Regions from separate parts of the Homo sapiens genome. Here region 2 is linked to region 1. The links are contacts of gene promoters, found by promoter capture Hi-C in human tissues and cell types (Jung and others, 2019). All regions are on one chromosome and are shown on one strand. The core of a region is centred on a gene start or on the middle of the fragment in contact, and the rest is flanking DNA. Distances in the headings are between cores, read along the strand shown. Region 1 holds the start of HCAR1 (hydroxycarboxylic acid receptor 1). Region 2 overlaps KNTC1 (kinetochore associated 1).

What was found. Contacts are between HindIII fragments. The study calls those that stand out against the background at their distance.
Region 2: a fragment that was not itself captured here is called in contact with the fragment with the promoter of HCAR1 in region 1 in 4 of the 25 tissues and cell types used here (lymphoblastoid cells, mesenchymal stem cells, spleen and 1 more).

The regions. Positions count from the first base shown.
Region 1 is chr12:122,729,072-122,732,391 of GRCh38, forward strand. It overlaps HCAR1 (hydroxycarboxylic acid receptor 1), which reads right to left and starts at 1,773. Exons shown (of 1, transcript NM_032554.4): 1 at 1-1,773. The coding sequence starts at 1,268. The coding sequence ends at 228. RefSeq lists an enhancer at 535-1,202. The HindIII fragment of the contact is 12,382 bases long and covers 1-3,320 here.
Region 2 is chr12:122,616,596-122,620,012 of GRCh38, forward strand. It overlaps KNTC1 (kinetochore associated 1), which reads left to right. Exons shown (of 64, transcript NM_014708.6): 58 at 1,748-1,802; 59 at 1,887-1,950. Among named protein-coding and RNA genes, the nearest start is that of MIR9902-1, 78 kb to the right of the region's middle. The HindIII fragment of the contact is 6,913 bases long and covers 1-3,417 here.

The DNA.
Region 1 (3,320 bases), core at 523-3,022:
TGATCAGATAAGAAAATGCAGCCAACTCACTTCAATCAACTGGAACCTCCCCAAAAGGTATAGTTGTGTGAATTTCATTTCCGACAGAATGAGAAGGATGCAGTTCATGTGCGAGAAGCCGTCTTGCAATAAGAAAGGGGGGTGGCATTTTCAAAGCCCCCGACCCCTTAGCACGAGTTAATTCTAAGTCACCACTCTATCTTCCTCAGTGTTGTTGGTCTGCTTGTTCAGTGCCACTCAACAATGTGGGGATCCCATTGCCCATCAGACTGGCTTTGGAAACTATTTGCCACACTGATGCAACTCCTGCGACCGAGGTTCGAAATTGGCATCTCTTCCGGCCTTTGTGTTTTTGAGTGTCCTGGCTGCTTGGGTTTCAGACTGCAGATTTTGAGCTTGTTGTAGAATTTGGGAAAGGAGGGGCTTGAAAAATAATACACCAGGGGATCCAGCATGCTGTTCATGTAGGTGAAGCTGAGGGTTATGTGCAGGGCCCCATGGACAGAGGGATCGCAGGCACTCGAGGGCACCGTCCAGAGGAAATAGAGTCTAGCAGACACGCTGGGCAGGTAGCATGTGATGAACACAATTGCCACCACCATGATGAACCGGGTCGCCTTCTTCATCCGAGCCTGTCTGGCCAGCTGCTGCCTCCGCCTCAGGCTCCAAACAATCTTGAAGGAGCAAAATAAGATGATGCCGAGGGGCATAAAGAACTCCAGCTGGAACATGATGTCATGCCAGCCATTGGCCGACTCCATGATGAAGCTCTCACAGGAGACGGCCGTCTCTTGCACGCAGAGATGGTTCTCCAGCAAAAGATACACTGTTCCCAGGATGACCAGGGCCCACAGGGTGCAGACGATGCCAGCCGCCACCCGGGTGGAGATAGTGTTCACCGCGTGGTGGGGGTGGACCACTTTGAAATACCTGTCCGCAGCCACCACCGTAAGGAACACGATGCTCCCGGCCCTGTTCATGGCCAACGTGAAGAGCCCCACTCGGCAGGGAATGTCCCCAAAAGCCCAGTGTCTACGTCTGAGGTAATAGTCTGTCCGAAAAGGCAGGCAGATCATAAGGAGGAAATCAGCCACGGCCAAATTGAAAAGGTAAACAGTGCTGGGCTTCCAGGTCTTCATGTGGAAGCAGAAACCACACAGGGCGACCCCATTGCCTAGTGCGCCCAGCACAAAGGCCACAATGAGCAGCGGCGGCATCACCTGGGAGATGGTGTCCCCCTCGATGCGGCAGCACGACCCGTTGTACATGGCGGGGACAGAGCAAGTGTCCGGGTGCAGAGCAGCCCAGGGAGTCCCCACAATGGCACAGATGCTTATCTGAGCGTTAGCACTCACCCAGCTGCTGCGTGTCTGACTTCATCACCCAGGATGCGGGTCCTGTGTGTGTGGGTTGGATGCTGCCACAGCAGCGAGAAGAGAAACTTCAGCCAGGAAATGAGAGACCCAGGGAGGTCCTTTCTCTGGAGCCCGTCTCACAAGCCGCCTGCCTCTGGGAGAGGCCAAGCCTGGAGCCGGATGAAGCTTGGAAATGCATGCAATTTTGCAAAAGTGGTCATTTCTGAGAGGCGGTAGGGTGGGGGGGTCCGATGAGATTGATGCCGTAGAGGAGCGATTGGGTCCAGCGCCAGAGTAATTTTCATTTTCAGCTTCGCTGTTCCTCCTCGGACTCCGTGCTGGAGAGCACACAAAGCTGCCCAGAAGGCAAGAAGAAAGCTTGTTTGTCCTCCCTCCTGGTGGAGAAATCCAAACATTTCCTGGAGTGGTTCTGGGCTCCTGCCTTTGCTTTCCTCCCGTAACCTTTGCCTGACTGCCTTGTCCTCTCCCTCATCCCACGGGGCACTCCCATGCGGTGCCAGAGAGGGGAGGCTTTGCTCTGCAGCTCCTCCGGGCCATTTCCTGTGCCGAAAAATACCGCGCTCAAAAATTGGAGGAGTCTGCGGAGAGAAAAGTTCTAATCACGATACTTGATGGATGTTAGAAAAATTCTTTGACGGGAGTCACCTTTCCCCCGCTCTATTCCCACCTCCCTGCCCTTTACATCCTTCCGTGAACCAAAGTGGCCAGTTGCACAACCACCAAGACCATGAAATAGATCTGAAGCCCACTTCTCATATGTCTGTCTCCACAAAACGGCCTCTTTGGGAGCCGGTTTCCCCCTCTGCTGGGAAGCAGAGCCTAGAACTTTTACAAAGATTTGGCCCTGAGTTTCCATTGGCTGTTGAATGAGCCAAACACCATGAGATGTACGTTTTTAATTTCAATTATGTGCTGAGCCCATCAATTAAAACTGCCCCCTGGGGGCGGAAGAGGATTGGAGGAGTTGATTAAGGAGTCCATCTCTAAAGCAATCATGAGTAACATTAGACTGCACAAAAAATTGGAGTCTTTGCTAAAATTTCCTGTCCTTTGGCTTTAAGGATTATTAATCTGCCCTGTGCCTTTCAGCTTCCAGTTTAGAAAATGGGGTGGAGGCCGGGCGCGGTGGCTCACGCTTGTAATCCAAGCACTTTGGTAGGCCCAGGCGGGCGGATCACCAGGTCAGGAGATGGAGACCATCCTGGCTAACACGGTAAAACCCCGTCTCTACTAAAAATACAAAAAAATGAGCCAGGCGTGGTGGCGGGCGCCTGTAGTCCCAGCTACTCGGGAGGCTGAGGCAGGAGAATGGCGTGAACCCGGGAGGCAGAGCTTGCAGGGAGCCAAGATTGCGCCACTGCACTCCAGTCTGGGTGACAGAACCAGACTCCGTCTAAAACAAACAAACAAACAAACAAACAAAACAACAAGAAAAAGAAAAAGAAAAAAGAAAGAAAGAAGAAAATGGGGTGGAGGCCAGTCGCGGTGGCTCACATCTATAATCCCAGCACTTTGGGAGGCCGAGGCAGGTGGATGACTTGAGGTCAGGAGTACAAGACCAGCCTTGCCAACATGGTGAAACCCCATCTCTACTAAAAATATACAAAAATCAGTCAGGTGTTGTGGCATGTGTCTGTAATCCCAGTTACTCAGGAGGCTGAGGCAGGAGAATCACTTGAACCCGGGAGGTGGAGGTTGCAGTGAGCCGAGATCGTGCCAATGAACTCCAGCCTGGGTGACAGAAAGAAACTCTGTCTCAAAAAAAAAAAATGGGGCGGAAAAGAGGGGGTGCATTGAAAGAATGTGTCTGTCTTCTAGATGCACACTGAAGCTAAATTCTTCCCACTGGATGCTGGACTCCAAATCTGTCCACCCACATTCTCCCCTGCCTCGCCCTAGCACAGACCGCAGTCACTTCCCACCTGAACTGTTGAAACAGTTTCC
Region 2 (3,417 bases), core at 709-3,208, 110 kb before region 1:
TGTGCATATCTACAGTGTATATATGCATTTTTGCACACATAAATGCAATCACATTCTAAACAAAGTGTTGTTTTCACATAACAGTGGTCTCTGGAGATTGTTCCATATCAGCACATGTAGATCTATCTAATTGTTTTATTGAGATACAATTCACATGTAAAATTTATCCTTTTAAAATACACAATGAAGTAGTTTTTGGTATATGCACAGAGTTGTACAGCCTCACCATTATCTAATTCCAGAACATTTTCCTCACCCCAAAAAGAAAATTCATATCCATTAGCAATCATTCCCCATTCCCCACTCCCTCCAGCCCCCAGTGACCACTAATTTACTTTCTGTCCATGGATTTGCCTATTCTGGACATTTTGTATCAACAGAATCCCACACTATGTGGGATTTTGTGTCCGGCTTCTTTCACTCAGCATCCACATTGTAGCATGGATCAGAACTTCATTCGTCTTTATTGCCAAATAATGTTCCATTATATGGATATACCACTTTTATTTATCCATTTGCCAGTTGATAAAGATTTGAGTTTCTATTTTTGGTCATTATAAATAATGCTGCTATGAACATTTGTGTACAAGTTTTCACTGAACATGTTTTCATTTCTCCTGAGTATATACCTAGAAGTGGGCTTGTTGGGTCTTACAGTAACTCTATGTTTAGCCTTTTGAGGTATTTTATTATTTTTAATGCTTGATTATTCTCCAGAATATGTGGTAAAATATACCTGAAGTTACTTAACCACTCCTCTATTGATGGAAGTTTACATTTTCTTTCCTCTTTTTTTTCTTTAAATGTATAGAGATGGAGGTCTTGCTATGTTGCCTAGGCTGGTCTTAGAACTCCTGAGCTGAAACAATCCTCCTGCCTTGGCCTCCCAAAGTACTGGGATTACAGGTGTGAGCCACCGCGCCTGGCCAGTGTTCTTTCCTTATTCACCTTCTTGAAATTCTTTCTCTTGTCCCCTTCCTTCTTTCCTGTGGCCCTGGCACATAACCGGCTAAGGATTAATTTTCTTTTCTGAGTTGGGTTCTGACTTTTTGCCAAATGGAATAATGAATCAGCAAGGATTGTATAATGAGATCCTGAAAGATACAGTTATGAAGAACATTATGCTAGAACCTTAATCATCTCAAACAGGGAGATATCAGCTTATGATTTTAGTCATCTGGAATATAAACTATAAATGTACAGTTTTGTGACCATTTAACAGCGGCCTCTAGAGAGTGTTCCGTATCAGCGCATAGCGATTTATCTAATTTTTTTGTTGAGATACAATTCACTTGTAAAATTCATCCTTTTGAAAGTATACAATCAAGTAGTTTCTGCTATATTCATAAAATTGTACAACCATCACCATTATCTAATTTCAGAACATTTAGGCTGCAATTTAAAGAGAGTTCATAATACCTTTTTCGAGATGGAGTTTCGCTCTGTCACCCAGGCAACCTCCGCCTCCCGGGTTCAAGCGATTCTTGTGTCTCAGCCTCCCGAGTAGCTGGGATTACAAGCATGCACCACCATGCCTGGCTAATTTTTGTATTTTTAGTAGAGACGGGGTTTTGCCATATTGGCCAGGCTGGTTTCGAACTCCTGACCTCAAGTGATTCACCTGCTTCAGCCTTTCAAAGTGCTGGGATTATAGGTGTGAGCCACCGCGCCTGGCCTAGACTGCAAATTAAAGAGAGTTTGTAATATCCTTAACATGAATATCCCAAACGTGGACTTGTTTTCACAGGTTCCCTACTTCAGCAAAGCGTGGCAGCGTGTGATACAGATACCACTGCTTTCAGGTATTTCGCTCTCTGAAACATTGGCTACAGCATTTTATAGTTGAGTGTGTGTATATCATGGTTGTTTTTTTGTTTTGTTTTCAGCCTCTTGTCCTTTAAGTCCTGATCAGCTGTCAGATTGTTCTGAGAGTCTCATCGCTGTCCTCGAGTAAGCAAAATATTTGTTCTACCAAAAAAAAAAAAAGTTTGTTGCTTATAAGATTCCCTTCTAATAGATATCTCTAATGAGTAATTCCTTTTTGTTAGGAAGTTAAGCATAACACGTGTTTGTTGTTGTTGTTGTTGTTTTGAGATGGAGTCTTGCTCTGTCATCCAGGCTGGAGTGCAGTGGCACAACCTCGGCTCACTGCACCCTCCACCTCCCAGATTCAAGCGATTCTCCTGCCTCAGCCTCCTGAGTAGCTGGGATTACAGGCACGTGCCACCATGCCCAGCTAATTTTTGTATTTTTAGTAGAGATGGAATTTCCAAAGTGTTGGGATTACAGGCATGAGCCATCCCGTGAGTAGCTGGGATTACAGGCATACGCCACGCACCACCACGCCCGGCTATTATTTGTAATTTTATTAGAGACAGCCTCCCAAATTGCTGGGATTACAGGTGTGAGGCACTGCGCCCAGCAACACTTGTTTTGTTTTTTGTTTTTTGTTTTTTGTTTTTGTTTTGTTTTTTGTTTTTGAGACGGAGTCTTGCTCTGTCACCCAGGCTGGAGTGCAGTGGTGCGACCTCAGCTCACTGCAAGCTCCGCCTCCCAGGTTCACGCCATTCTCCCACCTCAGCCTCCTGAGTTGCTGGGATTACAGGCACGTGCCACCATGCCAGGCTAATTTTTGTATTTTTAGTAGAGATGGAATTTCCAGAGTTTTGGGATTACAGGCATGAGCCATCCCGTGAGTAGCTGGGATTACAGGCATGCGTCATGCACCACCACGCCTGGCTAATATTTGTAGTTTTAGTAGAGACAGCCTCCCAAATTGCTGGGATTACAGATGTGAGGCACTGCGCCCAGCAACACTTGTTTTGTTTTGTTTTTGAGACGGAGTCTTGCTCTGTCACCCAGGCTGGAGTGCAGTGGCGCCATCTCGGCTCACTGTAAGCCCTGCTTCCCGGGTTCACGCCGTTCTCCCGCCTCAGCCTCCTGAGTAGCTGGGACTACAGGCGCCCACCACCATGCCCGGCTAATTGTTTGTATTTTTAATAGAGACGGGGTTTCTCCGTGTTAGCCAGGATGGTCTCGATCTCCTGACCTCATGATCCACCTGCCTCGGCCTCCCAAAGTGCTGGGATTACAGGCTTCAGCCACCGCGCCCGGCCAACACTTGTTTTTATACCAAAATATCTTGATTATTTTTACAATGTCTACTTCCCATGTGTTGTGCGACTAGTAAACTGAGCATTCTCTAAAATGAGTACCTACTGTATGAGCATAGAGTACTTTTGGTGACTACCCTAAATCATACAGCGTTGTCGCATATATTTTGAGTCTTCTGGCTGGGTGCGGCGACTCACACCTGTAATCCCAGCACTTCGGGAGTCTGAGGCGAGTGGATCACTTGAGGTCAGGAGTTCGAGACCAGCCTGGCCAACGTGGTGAAACCCCGTCTCTACTAAAAAT